Regions from separate parts of the Homo sapiens genome. Here region 2 is linked to region 1. The links are contacts of gene promoters, found by promoter capture Hi-C in blood cells and fetal thymus (Javierre and others, 2016). All regions are on one chromosome and are shown on one strand. Each heading gives the region's core, a stretch centred on a gene start or on the middle of the fragment in contact. The rest is flanking DNA. Distances are from core to core; before and after follow the strand shown. Region 1 holds the start of EPGN (epithelial mitogen). Region 2 overlaps RASSF6 (Ras association domain family member 6).

Region 1 (5,669 bases), core at 1,727-4,226:
TCTCTCTTCTAGCATAAACTTCTAGAAGAAGAGAGATAAGTAAATTGAAAAGACTGGAAACATGGCATGAGAGAAAAGTAGTAGTGGAGCTCTTAGCCTCTCATTTCCTTCTCCTTTCTCACCCTAACCTGCTTTAATGCATATTAAGAATGAATAAAGATATCAGAAAAACCACCTTACAGTATCCATCTGCCCCCCATTCTTTAGGATTTGGAGAAAGGACTTTTGGGTGAGAGGATTGAAGATGTGAAGGGAGTGGACTTTCCTGTAAAGATTGTTAAGTGGGAGCCATGAGTATGGGCCCCAGAGGAAAGGCAACATGTTTGATGACTTAAAGTTACTTTCTGGTATACTCCATAAGCTAAAGCAGAAGATGGGTTTCTATATTAAGTGGCCCAGTTTACCAGAGAGGCTTCAGTTCCATCTCTCAGCACAGATGTGAGTGAAAATCACAGTTAATTAAATATTTAGTTTTTTTTCTAATAAAGGTAATTTATTTAAAGCTTGATTTTAGGAGATAATTGAGGGAATTCTTTTGAGATCAGTACAACAACTACTACAAGAGAACACAGCTAGGTAAATGGAAAGAGCATACGATTTAGAATCTGTAAATATAGAATTGAAGTCCTTTTTTTTGTTCGTTTTGTTTTGTTTTGTTTGTTTGAGACAGGGTCTGTAGCCCAGGCTGGGGTGCAATGGTGTAATCATGGCTCATTGCAGCCTTGACCTCCCAGGCTCAAGTGATCCTCCTACCTCTGCCTCTCAAGTAACTCATGCCCAGCTAATTTATTTTTTGTAGAGTCGGGGTCTTGCTCTGTTGCCCAGGCTGGTCTCAAACTCCTGGGTTCAAGCAATCCTCCTCCCTCAGCCTCTGAAAGTGCTGAGATTACAGGTATGAGCCACTGCACCTGGCCAGGATTGAAGTGCTGACTCTAGGCATGTCCTTTGGCAAGTCACTTAATTCTTTTGGGCCTCAATTTGTCATTTGTCATGTGAGAATAGAAATAATGCCTATTTATTTCCTTATTCTCTGAAGACAGATTCATTGAGTATTTACTAGATGTTAGGCACTGGATTTGTTTGGGCCAGGGTTACTGAAGAAAGAATTGAGATGTGTAGGGAAACCTGTAAAGTGCAAAGGACTGCACTAGCTACAGTTAAGAGTTTTTACAAAGATAATCTTTGTACTTTGATGTCTCAGTCTTAGAAATAAACTATTTAATCCCAGCACTTTGGGAGGCCAAGGTGGGTGGATCATGAGGTCAGGAGATCGAGACCATCCTGGCTAACACAGTGAAACCCCGTCTCTACTAAAAATACAAAAACTTAGCAGCGCCTAGTGGCAGGCACCTGCAGTCCCAGCTACTCGGGAGGCTGAGGCAGGAGAATGGCATGAACTCAGGAGGAGGAGCTTGCAGTGAGCTGAGATCGCACCACTGCACTCCAGCCTGAGTGACAGAGTGAGAAAACATCTCAAAAAAAAAAAAAAAGAAAGTATTTAATATGAGTCCTAACATCTCCCTCCAGAAACTACAAAAAGAATTGTGATGGTTTATTTAATCTTTTGTAAATGATTTCTTTTTAAATTCTCAGCAATGGTGCAAAGACGATTGTTCAATTTATAATTCAAATGTTATTTGCCTGGGAAATATATTATCTAGAAATCGACTTAGTAATCAACAGTTTTTTAAAAACCTACAAAAGTAGAAATGCAAAATGTAGACACATTTAAAGCGAGCCAAGTACTATTATATTATTTTAACTTTAAAATGATGACTCCTGTGGCAAGTGATTGCCCAAGTTATAATGAGTTCAACAAGCTTGTTCTTGTGTGATTTCTAACACCACATTTATATTTGAATAGTGAAAGGGCTCCTTTCTGGTAAATCTAATTTGCTGAGTGGACATGATGCAAAAGATAACCTATCTTGACTTGAATATGTTTTTAGGGTTTTGAGGTTTCAAGTTTCAAGAAAATACAAGGAATTGAAATTCCAGACAGAAAGACTCAATGCCTCAGGAAGATATATTTATAAATCATTTATATTAATTTGGGGCAAGTGAAAATTTCTGTAGTTGTAAAATATAGTAGCTGTAATGACATATTTTGGCCTTTAAAGTGCCACTTTAATAATTACAACTAGATGAACTTGAGAAATAATTTGAATGTTGTATTAACTTAGAAACTTTCTATTCATTGGATGTATCCAAACTAAATGTCATCTTAATTTTCTCTTAATGGAGAATTTTAATATTATTATTATTGCTATTATCATTATGTTGGTACTTTACTGGTTCTCTGTAGCTTAATCATTGGGATGCAGATTTAAGCATTGTTGTTCCTGGAATATGGCAGCCCATTTCATTTACTCAGAAAAATGTTAAATAGCAGGATGACAGAAAGGTGAATATTATACTATTAAAAATAATTTTATTTACAGCACTTGTCATAGTAACACTAAGAAACAAACACTAAAATGGAATATGAAACCTCTGTGTTTTCACAAATTTAACTGTTCTCTGCAACTAAATTAACAAATTATCTTGATTTGAAATGGAACTTATAGTCTGTAATAAAAGGTGGTATAACCAACTATAGTTTCAGGTATATTTCTTTTAGAAACAGGTTATGCTGCTTCCTAATTTGCAGTTATGTTTGTTGAACTCCCGTATAGGTTTCTAGCATAGTTTGAGCTGGTATAGTTCTCTTCACACCAATGGGAGCCTTTCCTGAAATTACATTTTGTTCTTGTTGTTTTAAGTACTTTTACATACATGATTATGCCCACAGGTAACAGGAAACCAGTGTTTCAAAAGAAAACTTGATCACATTGCTAGATAATACAGGTATCCTAACCAAGTGCGTGAGCGCCCAGAGGCTTTCTGCTGCTGCCAGAAGTACATATTTTTTTGATTGGTAAGAACTGCCAGATGACGCTTCATGAAATATAAATGCAACAAAGACTCAGAGAGCTCAATAAAAACCTTCCACCCGTCAGTCTAGAAGGATAAGAGAAAGAAAGTTAAGCAACTACAGGAAATGGCTTTGGGAGTTCCAATATCAGTCTATCTTTTATTCAACGGTAGGTAATTTCCTTTTGTTTTGTTAACTTTATATCAGTGTAAAATGTGAATAGAATTTATTTTCTCTGCATTAGAGAGAAGTTGGCTTCTAACAGTTGTTCTTTATGACAAAGATCAGAGTAATGAATCTGTGGATTAATTTAGTTTCTTATGTCCTGTATGTTCCTTTCCTAATATATTTTGACACCTTTTTTGAGACCTCCAGAATGTTTGCTTTATACAATTGAAGAGTAATTGATACATTTAGCTACTATACTATAGGGTTCTTATTTTTTAATTAATATGTAAATGTATCAATGGTCTTAAATATTGGGTTTTTATTTGCTTTAATCCTAATATAGTCAATGGAATGGATGAGAAACTGTAAGTATGTTGCCCTAGTCACGTTATGGATTTCAACTGTAATAAATTAAAAAAATAGAAATTGGAATAAACAGAATAAGAATACTTTCCATCTGTTGCTTGTACATAGAAGGAGGCTCTCTGTTAAAGATGCTTTTGCCCCCTTAATACAGCAATGACAGCACTGACCGAAGAGGCAGCCGTGACTGTAACACCTCCAATCACAGCCCAGCAAGGTAACTGGACAGTTAACAAAACAGAAGGTATTTTCTTCCCATTTTCATATTTCACAAGACTTTTCTAAAACTTGGGAGAGAAATTTGGATTGTGATAAAAGCAATATTGGCCATTTTTAATATATATTTTATTATTAGATAATCAGCTCTTTTAGCAGGATGCTGTTAAATTGAAGTGACAGATAAATGTGCCAGGAAATAATTGCCTTTTTAAAAGGAGGAAGTTAAGCAAATGAGACAAAAGCTGTCTTCAGTTACTGTCTTGAATGTGAAACAGGCCACATTTTCTGCTTCATTTCTGCTTGGTTCCCAATAACCCCTGTGTGTACAGAGACAGTTTGTCCCCATTTTGGCATTCTTGATGAGCAGCATTATATTTTGATCTGTGATTATAAGCTTTGATGCCAAAGACATTATGGCTACAAGATGAACAGCACTTTCCCTCATCTTTGGAATGACCTTTTTTTCTTGTTTGCTTTGGAGTTTTTGTTGTTATTTTAGCATATGCTGTATTTCCTAACCACTTGTACCCAATTTTTGTTGTTGATGGTAATGATATATTTTCTTTTGCACTTAATTATTATCACAGTGGCTTCTGGATGCTCTTGAGCATCAGCGTTCTTTCTCTAATCTGTTTAAACTCTTAGAGGTGAAACTTGGAAAGCTTGTTGCTTACCAAGACCTGTGACTGAGTGGTTATGATTCTTCTGCAAATCGCATCCTGATTGCTATGTGAAGGCTGGCAATTTGATTTAGGACAGAGGAAACAATGTCTTGCACTCAGAGTCAGGCAAATAAAGGAAGATTGTCATATCTCAGTGTTCTTCATGTCACCAATAATTTAAAATTTTAAATGATTGTCTCGAAATATTTTACCCATTTGATTTTTTGAATATCTGTTGATTTGCAAAACGAAATCAATGTGGGTTATAGAATAACTTTTAGCCAACTATTTGTCTTCTAAGCCTTCAAACAAAGAGGAAACACCTTATTATAATTATTATATTCAGTACTATATTATACTGGCCTGGCACAGTGGCTCGTGCCTGTAATCCCAGCACTTTAGGAGGCCAAGGCGGGCAGATCACCTGAGGTCAGGAGTTTGAGACCAGCCTGGGCAACATGGTGAAACCCTGTCTCTACTAAAAATACAAAAATTAGCTGGACGTGGTGGCGCATGCCTGTAATCCCAGCTACTCAGGAGGCTGATGAAGGAGAATTGCTTGAACCCAGGAGGTGGAGGCTGCAGTGAGCTGAGATGGGGCCATTGCACTCCAGCCGGGGTGACAGAGTGAGAGTCCGTCTCAAAAAAAAAAAAAAAAAAAAAAAAGAAGATAATATACTGCAGAAAATTAAAGAAGCATAGTTTTCTCTCAATGACTGACTTCGTAATAGCATGCTCAGTACTAAATTTTTTTTTCTTCCTTAATGGTGAACAGCAAATAAAATATTTTGAGTTACAAGTAATAATAATGGTAAAAAGGAATCCAATACAGTCATCCTCCGTTATTGGTTGAACATTGGTTCCAAGACCTCCTCCTCCTGCCCAGAGGGTACCAAAATCCACAGATGCTCAAATCCCTTATATAAAATAGTGAAATATTTGCATATAACCTATAGACACACACCCATGTACTTTAAATCATCCCTTGATTAGTTATGCCTAAAACATTGTAAACGCTATGCAAATAGTTGTTATACTGCATTGTTTAGGGAATAATGACAAGAAAAGTCAGTACATGTTATGTACAGATGCTTTTTTTTCAAATATTTTCCCTATGAGGTTGGTTGAATCCACAGATGTGGAACCTATGAATACAGAGGTACAACTGTATATCATTTCTGTATTTTTCCTTTGCTTTCTTGATGGAGAACTTTAATTTTTCCTTTTGTTTTTTATCTAACTTAAAAATATCAATCTAGTATCTTAGAAAAATTTTTATAAAGTTATGATCATTCTCATTCTTAGGGGAAAGATGAGTCTCTCTGGTATAACTTTTCTTTAGA
Region 2 (5,669 bases), core at 1,555-4,054, 730 kb before region 1:
AGGCAGGGTTTCACCATGTTGGCCAGGCTGGTCTCGAAATCCCAACCTCAAGTGATCCACCTACCTTGGCCTCCTAAAGTGCTGGGATTACAGGCGTGAGCCACCGTCCATGGCCTATTTCCCTCTTTCATCTTTTAAAATAATTTTCTGAACATTTAGGCTTTTTATTTCCTTTTGTCACAATAAATAACAATATAAAACATATCTTTGCAGAATGTCTTTGTATCTCTGGTTATTTTCATATGATAGGATCTTACAAGTAGAATTATAGGATAAACAGACTACTAAATTGCCTTCAAGAAAAATTATATCTATTTGTATTTTTACCAGAAGTTTGAGTCCCCATCTCATGGTGATTTATTGAGTATTTAATGTTATCATTTCTTAATCTTTGCTAATAGGCCAAAATGTGTATTTATTTATTTATTTTACTTTGTACTTCGGTGGCATGTCAGTTATTATTTTACTGTCTCTCAGCTCCACATTCACTGTTGGTTGCCCGCTCCGTGAAAATAGATATAGACTCTTGAAATGTTTCCTTTGCAGCTTGCATGATGGCATACTTTGTCAGTAGAGGGCGCTGGAGACACACTGCAAGAGGAAGGGGTCTTTCCTGATTCCTCCAGGCTGACAGGCCAGGCTACTGGAGAGCAGGCTTTTTTCCTTCACTACTTTGCCTGGAGTGGTTTCTGCAGTGCTGGTTGCCTGTAGGGTGCAGCTTTCTCCAGCATTTCTCCACTTGCTTCTCTAGCTTTTGCTTTGGGCAGTGGTGGTATAACCTGGAGCCACAGTGCAAGCCGGTCCTGAAGCTCCAATTGCTGCTCTCCATTTCTTCTCTTCAGCTGGGTGCACACTCATACAGAGGACCCTGCTGGGCTGGCCAACTACTGAGCCACTTGCCTGAGCTTTGTCTTGTGCAGTCTCGTCACACAAAGTTATGCTAGGTTCCTGCAAAGTAGGTCCCTCCGGCTCCTAATCCCAACAGTGCCTCGAACAGAACCCGTGACTCCTTCTTTGTGCTTACCCTTTGGCAAAGCCCCAAGTCCCTCTGCATATCTGCCCACCTGCCTCAGCTGGTCCACACCTAGGGGGTTGGCTGTACCAGCTTGTCCAGTATCTGTGGTCCTGCTCTGGCCTGGGCAAGCCAGCAAACTTCTCTCCAGTGGGCTGCAACCACACCTTCTCCAGTGAATTCTGAAACCCTCATTCCTGCCTTTCCTTGTTAGGATTCTTTCCCTCAGCCTTAGGGTACCTTCTCTTTTCATCTTTATTATTATTCTCCTATCATAGCTTAATTATTATTTATATTAAACTTTCCCTGTTTAAATTACTACCTTGTTTCTGTCTTCTGATTGATACAGACTAACACAGTTGTTCACTGTTAAGATACGACTTTTTTCATATACTTAGTGGCCATTTGCATTCTCTCTTCTGTGATTTTTCTTTTCATATCTACCTTTTTTTTCTATGTAAGACTTGGTTCTTCTCTTATACATTTCAGTCTATTGAAGACTAACCTTTTGTCATGTTCATGGCAGGTACATGACACTAGTTTTTTATAAGTATGTTGAATTTTAACTATTACATTTGCCTCATTTAAGTGAGATGAGACTATTTTCTTATTAATATTGACAGGTGAAAGAATAGCGATGCAAGCCTCTGGTTTACTCAGTAAGAGAGACTTCTTAGGCTTGAAAAGGCCATAGCACACTTTCACCTTCAACCAGTTTAGGTTTGGTAATACTGAGAAGTAATGCCTTTGTCTTAAAAATGTTTCATATTTTAATATTGTTAATCTTCCAGTTGGGTTTACTGCATATAATCTCATTCCTTAGTACATGTAATATGATCAATTTACTACAATGCTTATGAGGAATGCAAATGGAATTAGTTTACAGAATGAAAGAATGTTGCATATAATTCCATTTTAATACAGAATTTATAAATAAAATCATAGTTTATACTTATAGCATTTCTTCATTTTTAGTGTTTTTTTTTCAAGTGGGTTAAACAGATCTGTGAGTACCTTGAGAGTTGTCATGTAGAATAAGATGCTAAGAGGGCAGAGTTTGGGATTCCCTATGTAACTTCAGCTACAACAGCCTTGCTTTATCCATTGTATTCATTCAGCAACAAATAGGTATTTGTGGGCCAAGTCTTACTTTAGCCGATGTAATATGTCTATGTGATATAAACATTTTTTTGAAAAATAAATAAAGAAAAAGTTCAATTAACTTAAAAAAGAGCTTAAGAAAAGCTTTGAACTGATGAAAGGTCTTTCATCAGCAGAAGAGAGAGAATAAAAGGGCTGGGGGGAGGTTCAGAAAATTTCAATTAGGATTTCTTAACAGAGTCCATAATTTTTCCTTTCCAAAGGCCAGACAGCTCTGATGTTACAGATAGTCAGAAGTCAACAGGCCATTTAAGATAGTCCTAGATTTTATGAAAATGCCAGAGTTTTCAAGAAGCTACTGTCACTATCAGGTAGATTCCTTGATGGTGTAAGACTGTATTTCTTTTTCATTCCAAGAACTGGCAGCTTCTTTTTTCTGAGTCATTTCTGAATCCATTGATTATGTTTCAGTTCTCTTGAGAGTCCAAGCTAAATGAAGTTTAAACTGCTTATCTGAAGACACCATTTAAATTTGAGTTCATTACATGGTTTACTATAAAAGCTATTTGGCATATGCAGTATTCAAGCTTATTTCAGTTACTGAAACTAAACTCAAACTCATTTTGTCCAACTGTGAACCCTAATTAACCTCATCACTTCAAAAAGAAATGAGCTTTTTTTGACATTCAATTTTCTACGATTCAAGTCTCATATATGTTCGTATAAATGCAAGTACAGAACTTATGCATTCATCAAAGAGTAATATCTCTGAGTTTTTTGAAATGTTTTAGCAATAGAAGCTTGTACTGCTAAACTGTTGTCTCTGTTTTTATTACTAGTTTATTTTGAAGACATTTCAGTATAATCGCCTTTTCTTTATTGAATCTGAAAATGAGAAGAAGAAAGACTATTAAAAATTGGACATATTTTGTGCATTGGACATATTAAAGAACGGAGTATCCAATGTGCATGCTCTTGACTTACTTTGTTACTATTCTTTGAATCTCTCTTTTCTCTTCTTCATTTAATCTTTGAAGAATGGATTCCAAGAGAGAAAAGTGAAAGTTAATGTACTGAGCCACCTAAGAAAGAAGAAGAAGAAAAAAAAAAGAAAGCAGAACAATTATGCAAGAGGTGCTGAGTCAGGAGGGAAGCAAAAAACAGATTCAGGGTGATGGTATTCATACATCACTGCTAATTTCTTCTGCATCTTTATCCATGAGGAAAATGCGAGCATTCTTTTCAGAAGGTCCCTGTAGGAGCCTCTGCAGTAGCGGAATGTCTGTCTTCTTTAGTCGTCTTTGTTCTGCAGTGAAAACAAGAATCAACCACAATCAGAAGTTCATGCTGCAGGAAAAGAAGGAAGATAATTTTCCAATTTATTTTTCGTATTTAACTCACTTTGAAAAAAATAACACCTGCAACAGGAGGCAATTACTCAAAAAAGCAAATTGAAATTAAAACTTAAATGAACTTCTTTCTCTTACTGTATCTCAAGTTTTGATTAATGTCTCAAAGAACTCAGCCTTCCTTTGATTAGAGTGTTCAAACAAATCTCCGGTCTGATAGGCCTTTTATAAAGCAATATGCCTCAATAATTATTTAGGTTTCATTCCACCATTCCTTCATCCATACAACAAATATTTATTGGTTCTTTCCAAGTTGAGTTGATGTAATTCCATCTTTCTGGTTCTTCAGGTCCAAAACCATGTAATTATTTTCAATTCTTCCTTTGTCTCGCTCCACACCCAATTCTTGGCTCATCTTTAAAAATATATTCATGAGGTTTTTGAGATCAATAATATTCTTATTATTCATTCATCTGGGCTTAATCCATTCAGCCATGAAAATGAGATAGAGAAAGAAAATATCTTCCAATCTGGTGTGTTTCCAGAACTTCAAATTTCCAAAAGTTATAATATAAATACTCCTGCTACAAAAGTACTTATAGCTTTCTGTCAAAGTAGTTTCACATCTGGGATTTCATTTTTATCAGAATAAAGCATGAACAAAACATAGTGTCCTTATATTCATCTTATTTCCTCATTCTCTCCTTCACCTTGCTTACTTTCTTCAGAACAGTGAGAACTGTTCTCATTCCCTGAGCTGGACTTATCCCAGGAAAAGAGTCAAGAGAGAGTCTAGAACTCAAAAGCCCAGCCTCCCCACAATTAAAGTGATATTACCCATTCCTGTTCACATAGTGTCAGTGTTTACTGTTCTAATTCCTCTGCCATTTCTGAAGCAGTTGGGAGCCTTGACAACTTAGCTCCTCTCATCCACCCACCAGAATCCTCTTTTGACCTTCAGGTCCAATGTTAACTTGGCTTAGCATCCTCTTGCTTCATGATTCTGCTTTATGGGATGATTATTAAAAATAATGATTAAAAAATTATGATGATGATTATTAAAAATGCATATTCCTAGAGTTGTCCCCTGATCTGGAAGGACTTGGGAATCTGTATTTTAAGTGAACTCTATAGGTAATCTGAAATGAACTACAGTGTGAGATACACTGTAATGGGCTTTGTAGATATAAAGTTAAAACCCACCTATCTCTGTTTTCCAGATTACTGCCCAAACAGGAGCCATATGCTCTCTTCTGACCTAGTTATTATTATCTGCAGTTATGGATATATGCAAAATTTTGACACAAAATATAAAAGAAAATGGGATTTTTATAGGTGAAATTATAAAGAACTACATTTTTTATAATGAAAATAGACATTTTTTTCTTATAAAAACAACACGCTTGTTCGTTCATAGGTCCAGCACCTTGTGTGGAGCCCAAGAATGACTGGAAGGAAACTAAGCCATATTTCTGCTCAACTGCAGGCTAAAGTTAGAGGTGTGAGGAAAGAACGAGGTGCATGTGAATGGAATCCAAGTCTTGGAGAACACCAAAGAGGGAATTTTCAAATCTTGTACAACCTAGCTGTTCAAGTTATCACACAATCATTTAAGACTTCTTAATAAAACTGCTTTTTTTAAACTTAAAAAAAAATTCCCTTCCCCAAACATGCATGCTATTGTAATTGGAACAAACGAGAAAAGTATAAAGCAGGAAGTAAAGCACAACTGGAATTTCCAAGCCCTGAGATACTCTGCATTACCCTTTGAGTGTCCCCCTCACACAACTCATAATACATAAAGGTAATCATATCGTGCTTGCTATTTTTATTGTACACACCTTTAAACAAATCATTTTTTCTCTTTTTTTTTTTTTTAGACGGAGTGCAATGGCACGATCTCAGCTCACTGCAACCTCCGCCTCCTGAGTTCAAGCGATTCTCCTGTCTCAGCTTCCTGAGTAGCTGGGATTACAGGTGTGCGCCACCACACCTGGCTAATTTTTTTGGTATTTTTAGTAAAGACGGGGTTTCACCATAGTGGTCAGGCTGGTCTCAAACTCATGACCTCAAATGATCCGCCCACCTCGGCCTGCCAAAGTGCTGGGATTACAGGCATGAGCCACCGTGCCTGACACCCCCCTTCTCATCCTCTCATCTGCATTTCCCCAATCCCCCACCAGGTAATCTATCTCAATGGTTTTGTA

Evidence for each region. The method cuts DNA at HindIII sites, captures the fragments that hold promoters and counts their contacts. A CHiCAGO score of 5 or more calls a contact.
Region 2: a fragment that was not itself captured here is called in contact with the fragment with the promoter of EPGN in region 1 in 2 of 17 cell types (endothelial precursors and M1 macrophages); the score reaches 5.3 in endothelial precursors.

Annotation. Positions count from the first base shown.
Region 1 is chr4:74,305,494-74,311,162 of GRCh38, forward strand. It overlaps EPGN (epithelial mitogen), which reads left to right and starts at 2,977. Exons shown (of 5, transcript NM_001270989.2): 1 at 2,977-3,083; 2 at 3,600-3,689. The coding sequence starts at 3,041. The region is part of intron 2 of LOC105377276 (a long non-coding RNA gene); the gene reads right to left. The HindIII fragment of the contact is 2,238 bases long and covers 1,819-4,056 here.
Region 2 is chr4:73,573,313-73,578,981 of GRCh38, forward strand. It overlaps RASSF6 (Ras association domain family member 6), which reads right to left. Exons shown (of 11, transcript NM_177532.5): 9 at 3,301-3,419; 10 at 3,098-3,195; 11 at 1-2,998. The coding sequence ends at 2,923. Among named protein-coding and RNA genes, the nearest start is that of RASSF6, 44 kb to the right of the region's middle. The HindIII fragment of the contact is 213 bases long and covers 2,699-2,911 here.